2 separate regions of the Homo sapiens genome follow, and region 1 is linked to region 2. The links are contacts of gene promoters, found by promoter capture Hi-C in blood cells and fetal thymus (Javierre and others, 2016). All regions are on one chromosome and are shown on one strand. Each heading gives the region's core, a stretch centred on a gene start or on the middle of the fragment in contact. The rest is flanking DNA. Distances are from core to core; before and after follow the strand shown. Region 1 overlaps SYN3 (synapsin III). Region 2 holds the start of SYN3 (synapsin III).

Region 1 (4,184 bases), core at 492-2,991, 540 kb after region 2:
CCATGAACTAAAAGACGTGATATGTATTAAAAGGCATGAAAACAAAATTATCTTGTACATCTCCATCAGAACTATTGTGTGGATAGATGCATTGTCAATGAGCAGTAATATTTTGAAAAGAATCTTTTTTCTGAACACTAGGTCTCAACAGTAGGCTTAAAATATTCAATGAACCATATTGGAAATACTATGCTGTTATCCAGGCTTTGTTTTTCCATTTACACAGCACAGGCAGAGTAGATTTAGCATCATTCTTAAGGGCCCTAGGATTTCCAGAATGGTTAATGAGCACTGGCTTCAACTCTAAGTCACCGGCTGCACTAGCCCCAACAAGAGAGTCAGCCTATCCTTTGAAGCTTTGAAGCCAGGCATTGACTTCTCCTCTTTAGCTATGAAAGCCCTAGATAGTATCTTCTTCCAATAGAAGGCTGTTCCATCTACACTGAAAATCTGTTGTTTAGCACAGCCACTTTCATCAATAATCTAAGCTAGTTCTTCTGGATAACTTGCTGCAGCTTCTTCGTCAGCACTTGCAGCTTCACCTTGCAGTTTTTGTTATGGAGATGGCTTCTTTCCTGAGACTTCACCCACCAACCTCTGCTAGCTTCCAACTTTTCTTCTTTAGCTTTCTCACCTCTCTCAGCCTTCATAGGATTGAAAGTAGTTAGGGCCTTGCTCTGGATTAGGCTTTGGCTTAAGGCAATGTTGCGTCTGGTTTGATCTTCTTTCCAGACCACTCAAATTTTTCCGTATCAGCAATGAGGCTGTTTTGATTTCTTATCATTTGTGTGTTCACTGGAGTGGCACATTTAATTTCTTTCAAGAACTTTTCCTTCACATTCACAACTTAGCTAACTTTCTGGTGCAAGAGGCCTAATTTTCAGCTTGTCTTGGCTTTCAACATGCCCTCCTCACTAAGCTTAATCATTTCTAGTTTTTTTATTTAAAAGTAAGAGATGTGTGACTTTCCCTTTCACTTGAATATTTAGAGGCCATTATTGGGTTCTTAACTGGTCCAATTTCAATATTGTTGTGTCTAGGGGAAAGGGAGGCCCAAGGACAGGAAGAGAGATAGGGAAATGGCTGGTAAATGGGGCAGCCAGAACACACACATTTATCAAGTAAGTTCACTGTCTTTTTTTGTTTGTTTGTTTGTTTGTTTTTTGAGATGGAGTCTAGCTCTTTTGCCCAGGCTGGAGTACAGTTGCACAATCTCAGCTCACTGCAACCTCTGCCTCCTGGGCTCAAGCGATTCTCCTGCCTCAGCCTCCCGGGTAGCTGGGACTGCAGGTGCATGCCACCACACCCAGCTAATTTTTTTGTATTTTCAGTAGAGAAGGGACGTCACCATGTTGGCCATGATGGTCTCGATCTGCTGACCTTGTGATCCGCCTGCCTTGGCCTCCCAAAGTGCTGGGATTACAGGCATGAGCCACCACGCCCGGCCAGTTCACTGTCTTATATGGGTGTGGTTCATGGCACCCAAAAACAATTATTAATACAATAGTAGTATCAAAGATCACTGATTACGGATCACCATAACAGATATAATAATAATTTAAAAGTTTGAAATTTGTGACAATTGTCAAATGTGAGGCACAGACACCACATGAGTACATGCTGTTGGAAGGACAGCATTGACAGACTTGCTCAATGCAAGGTCGTCACAACCCTCCAATTTAGAAAAAACACAGTATCTGCAAACTGAAATAAAATGGACCACAATAAAACAAGGTATGCCTGTATAAAATACACATTAGTATTCTCCTTCAGGCAGATCTAGTGTGTTTGAATCCAGTTCCGTATCTCACTGCCTTTGCAGTGTTAGGCAAGTCATATTACTTCTCGGGGCCTCAGTTTCCTCAGTGTAAAGGAGGAAATAACAGCTTCCATGTTTAAGGATGGGGTGCTTGTCCATGAGATAAATGCAGGTGAAGCAATTAGCAAGGCATCAGACACAGAGATAGTGCGTAGAAGGTGTCAGTTCTTACTACTAATAATTTACTACGAATAACTATGACATAATGCTTACTATTAATAACGTGTGTCTTATACATATTGCTTTTCATGTTTATTATTAACAATCCTTGTAACTAATGCAGTGCCCCGTTACCCAGCAAGAATTCTATAGTAATAAGTGTTCCGAAACTACATATTCCTCACTCTACCAGGCTCCTGGCTGTGCCTCTGCCCCACACCCTCCTTTCCCCTCTGCCCTGGGACCTGCTTTTTAAAAGCACATTTGAACAGAGCCGTTTTAAAACAGAGAGCTACTGTATTCTGATTTCCTCTCTGGCCCAGAGTAAAACATGCTTGATAAAGAGATATTATTTTAAGGGAAATGAGGCTAAACACACTTTTAGTGAGTTGAAAAACAATCAATTTAAAACCAATTAAGGTAATTAAAGAAAATGCCCAGTGAATTAACGCTCAGATTAAAAATAACAAGGCTAATGAAAAACAACGCTTTCATTGAGTTCCCCAATTAACAAATCACATTATTATTTTGAACTTGCTGTTCATTTCAACTCAGTAAAAGTGAAATTTTCTTTTAATAAGCTTCATGTCTGTGCTTAGGCAAATACTTTCTATATATGTTAATATTTTGTGTATGTGCTCATATGAAAAATACTAAATTGTTTGCTTTGCCAAGAAGCCGAAAGAAATAACTAGGGCAGTGGTAATGGTTAGCACTCTGGTCTCTGAATCCAGTAACTAGGGTGTCTCTCTTGATAAATCCCAGGTATATGATAGGGACTCAACAAAGAGTTACTGAATTAATGAATGGGTATTCACATTTTCTAAGATATCAACCTGGGAAGGGAGGCGAATCAGGGGAAACTGAAGATAAAAGTAGAAAACAAATGTTTTATTTGAACTGCGGTGGGTTTAGAAAACCCAAAAGTAACCAACATTTAAAAATCAGGAGGTGAGCTGGGCGCGGTGACTCACACCTGTAATCCCAGCACTTTGGGAGGCTGAGGTGGGCGAATCACAAGGTCAGGAGTTCGAGACCAGCCTGGCCAATATGGGGAAACCCTGTCTCTACTAAAAATACAAAAAATTAGCTGGGCGTGGTGGCGGACGCCTGTAATCCCAGCTATTTGAGAGGCTGAGGCAGGAGAATCTCTTAACCCAGGAGACAGAGGAGGTTGCAGTGAGCCGAGATCGCGCCACTGCACTCTAGCCCGGATAATAGTGCAAGACTCCGTCTCAAAAAAAAAAAAAAAAAAAATCAAGAGGTGTTGCTTAAACATCTAGATTTCCAGCATCTCTTGATAGCACAGAAGCTCTAGAAACAATGGGCCTGTGTTTCTATACAGCAACTGTCCCTGGCGTTACTAACAGCGGCTTCCTTGATCAGAGCAAGGGCTCCTAGGGGCTCCTGCGTTTGCCTCCAGCCCTACTCCTCACTTCCATAGTGACAGAGAGGGGCAATTGCTATGTTCTTTATGCTTGCACCTCTTCAGAGAAATAGTTCTCTGGACTGTTTTTATCTCAAGTGGGCAAATTTTTGAAAGCCTCATTACTTTTCTTATATTTGCCTGCTTTATTTATTTACATACCTGGTTGGCCCTAGAGGTGTTTGAGATAAATGTGACCTCCCATCTACTCGCCTATACAATCATGAAAGAGGTAATGAATCAAAGCCATGTAATATAATCAGATGCTAAACTGATGCTGCAATTTAATCCAATTTAGTGTTCCACAAGCTCACAAAAATGTTCAGATCGGGAGGGATGTTTGATGTTCAGTCCAATGACCTTATTTTACAAATGAGGGCCCAGAAGCCCAGAGAAGGGGAGTGACTTACCCACGGTCACACAGCGAGTTAATGGCAAGGCTTGAGTCAGGACCTGAGGCTCCTGGTGCCAGTGTGGAGTCAGGGCCACCAGACTCCACAGGTCATGGAGGTTATACAGGTGGCATGTCCTCTGAAAATGTGCTCAGCTGACGTGACATCTGGTAAGGGAGGCTGGCTGAAATCTAGTCCTTGCCCCTTTGGCATCTGGCTCAGAGCTGCTTCAGCTGAAGGAAGCCGCCTTTTCTTAATTAGCAATAAAGATGTTATGAGGACTCAGGCGAGCCTGCGTGGTGTAGTTTTCATAAAGGAAAAAGTAATAAAACAGGGTTTTTGAGTCAAAGAGATCTAGGTTTGAATCTCGGCGTGTCCCCTTATTCGT
Region 2 (4,389 bases), core at 1,403-3,902:
TACAGTCTTTTAAAAAGTTTTAGTTAATTGGCTGGGTGCAGTGGCTCACGCCTGCAATCCCAGCACTTTGGGAGGCCAAGGCGGGCGGATCATGAGGTCAGGAGATCGAGACCCTCTTGGCTAACGCGGTGAAACCCCATCTGTACTAAAAATACAAAAAATTAGCTGGACGTGGTGGCGGGCGCCTGTAGTCCCAGCTACCTGGGAGGCTGAGGAAGGAGAATGGCGTGAACCCGGAAGGCAGAGCTTGCAGTGAGCCGAGATTGCACCACTGCAATCTCGACAATCCACTGCAATCCAGCCTGGGCGACAGAGCGAGACTCCGTCTCAGAAAAAAAAAAAAAAAAAGTTGTAGTTAATTACCAGCATTTAAAAAAACCAGAGATTTAACATAATCTGAATTTCTGGCCTCTTAATAAAAATCAGGGTCTGGTGTGGTGGCTCACGCCTATAATCCCAGCACTTTGGGAGGCCAAGGTGGGCAGATCACGAGGTTAGAAGTTCGAGACCAGTCTGGCCAACATGGTGAAACCCTGTCTCTACTAAAAATACACAAATTAGCCAGACGTGGTGGTGGGCGCCTGTAATTCCAGCTGCTTGGGAGGCAGGAGAATTGCTTGAACCAGGGAGGCGGAGGTTGCGGTGAGCTGAGATCGCACCACTGCACTCTAGCCTGGGTGACAGAGCAGGACTCAGTCTCGATAAAAAACAAACAAACAAAAAACAGAACATCTGGCAACTCTGGGTGGGTCTCCATTCACATATGGCAAAAATCAGTTGGAGCTGAGCAGTGACTGTCACCTTAGGCAGGTGTGCATACCTCAGTCTGTCACAAGCCCCATCCCTCCTTTCTATTATACCCTGCCAACCTCACTTAGTACATGACTACCCGGCCACGTCGGTATTAAAGTTTGTGATCCTTCAGCTAGTCTTATGCCCTCTTAGTTACTGAGGTTAGAGTCACTCCCTCTTAGTTACTGAGATCATGTACTAACGCTCATGCAGTAAGTGGAAGATGCTGGGTAAGAACCTTCCCGATCTTGGAAATAGTACCATTACTCCACAGTGGCTCAAGCTAAACACCTAGGAGATTTTCTTCTTTCATCCCTTTACGTCAACCCCTGTCATAGTCTATTTTGTGCCAATATAACAGAATATCACAGACTGGGTAATTTATAAGGAACAACAATTTATTTAGCTCATGGCTCTGGAGGCTGGGAAGTCCAAGATTGAGGGGCTGCATCTGGTAAGGGCCTTCATGCTGAGTCACCCCATGGCACAAGGCAGAACAAGAGAGCAGCAGAGGGGTGGGGAGAGGGCCACTCCTGGCATTAATGGAATCACCTCTTAAAGGTCCCACCTCTCAACACTGTTGCATTGGGGATTAAGTTTCCAAGATATGAACTTTGGGGAACATATTTAAACCATAGCATCCCCTAAATCCAGCCTAATCCATCATCAAGCCTTCCTGTGCTACTTTTGACACACATTGCAGGAGGTCCACCTTTTCCGTATCTTGCTGTCACCACCCTGGTCTTCATCACCATAATCTCTTGCCTGAATTGTTCCCTCCAGATTGATATGACAAAGCCCTGACCCTCACGGTGGCCTACAAGGTTCTGGGTGATGGTGATTCCACACTAGTCTACCTCTCTGGCTGTAACCCACTCTCCCCTTGCTCACCTCACTCAGCCACCCTGGGGGCCAGTTCCAGCTTCAGAACCATGCATCGGCCGACCCCTCTGTCAGCAATGCTCTTGCTTCAGCCCTGGAATCGTTTTTGTCCTCCAAGTATCCAATATCACAAGCGGCCCGGAGACCACCCTAGGTATAGCAGTCCTAGACCCCTTTCTTTTTCTTTTCTTTTTTTTGGAGACGGCATCTAGCTCTGTTGCCCAGGCTGGAGTGCAGTGGCTCTAACTCGGCTTACTGTAACTTCCACCTCCCGGGTCCAAGCAATTCTGCCTCAGCCTCCCGAGTAGCTAGGACTACAGGTGAGGGCCACCATGCCCAGCTAATTTTTGTATTTTTAGTAGAGACGGGGTTTTATCATCTTGGCCAGGCTGGTCTTGAACTCCCGACCTCGTGATTCACCTGCCTCGGCCTCCCAAAGTGCTGGGATTACAGGCGTGAGCCACAGGCACCCAGCCGACATTCTCTTGTTTTTTTCGTTTGTTGTATATAACCTACCCCCACCTCCACCCCATGCAAAGTCCACGAGGACGATAGACTTTGTCTTGTTCCCTGTTGCATCCTGGCCCTAGGGCCTAGCCCACAACCTGGGACATTTCCTGACAAGGGGCCCTGGTTTCTCTGAGGTGCCACCTGAGGTCCGGGAGGTCAGCTGACTTTCCCAAAGGTGGATTCCAAGGACACTGCATTCTTCGCACTCCCCGAGGGGCGTCTAGACACTCCTGGGACCCAGAATTATTAGCTAACTGGGCTCCTGAGTCCGGTGAGAGCTCAGAGTCTAGAAGCAACTTTCCCTGCCTGGAGAGGTGAACCCAGCAAGGCGTTGGGGAGAGGCGTGGGCGAGGGAGTGGGCGCGGGTGGGCGGGGCCGTCCGGGGGCCTCGTTGCCCGAGCCAATGGGGCGCCGCGGCGCGGGGAGGCCGGGCCGCCGGGCGGGGGCGCTCGCGCGCGTTGAGGGGCAGAGGCTGAGCTCCCGGGACCCGGAGCGGATCGACTGGCGGGCGCCGCGCCGAGGCACCACCGGGCGCCGAGTTCCTGGCGGCTCGCACGGTAAGCGGCGCGGCGCCGCAAAGTAGACTTTGTGGGGTTTCTGACAGCCGGGAGACCCCACCTCGAGCGGGGGCTGCTGGTGCGTTCTCGCGTCGGGCTGCGTCCCCTGGAGCTCCGGCTCTGTGTCCGCGGGATGCGGGCGCACGGAGGGGCAGGGAGGGAGGCAAGGAGCCGCGCACCACGGTGTCTCCCCAGGCTGCCGCTGCCGGGGCCCTGGGCCGGTCCCTGGGACAGACAGATCGGCGTGCGGGGGCCGTCTGCCGGGCCCGGGAGCCGGGGGCGCGCAAGACTGTGGATCCTAAGACTGCCTCCACCCAGCGCCCGGCCCGGGGAAGAGCTTGCGGGAAACCAGGAACCGCAGCGGCCGGACCTCTGCTCTGCGCCGGCTCCTAGGACCTGCCTTAGGTCCCCAGACCCCTCATGACCTGTTGCCTTGGGTTTGGGAGGTCAGGTTTGTCATGCCATTTCCGATTTCCAGTCATCCTGGGGGCAGGATGAAATTTCAGAGTGGTTTCCTGGCCAAGCTAGAAGCAGAGAATAGCTATGGATACAGCACCTCGTGTATCTATCCAGCACTTACTTGGCTTTTTCTGAGTGCCAGGAACTGTGCCAAGCCCTAGCAGCATGAAGAATGGCCTTTGGGGAGCTTCTGGGGCTAAGAGGGACAGTAGGAGGAGCAATTGCAGTGCAGGGTAGTGCGGAAGACTCGAGATGGAGAAGAGGACGGTGAGGAAGCCAGGAAGGTTTCAGAGAGGAGGTGAGCATTGACTGGAAGTCGGAGGTTTTGCCAGGCTGAAAAGTGTGTTGGGACTGTGAGTTGATAGGGAGCAGGAATTCCAGGTGGGTTTTCTTGTGTAAAGGTAAAGAAACTGAAAAGGTCCGGTGTCCTGACCTAGCACATCAGATAATTCTACAGCAGATAATGGAGTAGGACCGGGTCTTGCTGTAGGTAGGAAATGAGCTCTCGACATGGCAGGAAGCTAAAACCTGCACAGACCTTAAAGTGCAGCCTTAGAATATTTAGAATTTTATCCTGGAATGAAGGAGGGCCGTGGAAGAATTCTGATCAGTGATCAGGTCCCTCTGGCAGCTCTGGGGACAATGGATGGAGGCCGGAGCATCAGAAAGCTGGTAAGTTGTAGTTGTTTTCTGGTCCTTGGCTGCAAATACTCTTCCCTGCTTAAGGGAGCCCCCTCTGCCCGGGAGCCCTGCTCCCTGGCTTCTGGACATGGATTCAGGCAAAGAGATGCTGCCCGTGTAATGCTTGCTTCTGCAGCCTGCACATCATTTTGATATTGTTTCTGGAGCCTGTGACCTCAGTCTTGTCATCAGGCCTCTGAAGGGTGCCTCTGCTCTTCTTTTCTCATCTTCAAGCCCTCTGTGTGCCCTTCCCCTCTGCCTGGGCTCCCCTTTCTGTTTCACAGAGATCCAGTCTCAGCCATTGGAGGCAAGGCTGTGTGTAGATTGGTGTAGTAGAAAGAACAAGGGCTCGCTGGGAAATCAGACCAGAAAGTCACTTTAGCCATAGGCTTTGGGGACATTAGCAACCTTCATGAACCTTCTTTTTCTGATTTAAAAGGAAATCATTGTACTCACCTGTCATGGTTTGGGTTCCCTGGAAAAAGACTTGGCGCTTCTGAGATTTTTG

What was found. The method cuts DNA at HindIII sites, captures the fragments that hold promoters and counts their contacts. A CHiCAGO score of 5 or more calls a contact.
Region 1: a fragment that was not itself captured here is called in contact with the fragment with the promoter of SYN3 in region 2 in 1 of 17 cell types (fetal thymus); the score reaches 5.3 in fetal thymus.

Annotation. Positions count from the first base shown.
Region 1 is chr22:32,520,494-32,524,677 of GRCh38, reverse strand. The region is part of intron 12 of SYN3 (synapsin III); the gene reads left to right. Among named protein-coding and RNA genes, the nearest start is that of FBXO7, 48 kb to the right of the region's middle. The HindIII fragment of the contact is 1,640 bases long and covers 922-2,561 here.
Region 2 is chr22:33,056,644-33,061,032 of GRCh38, reverse strand. SYN3 (synapsin III) reads left to right here and starts at 2,652. Exons shown (of 14, transcript NM_003490.4): 1 at 2,652-2,741. The HindIII fragment of the contact is 6,835 bases long and covers 1-4,389 here.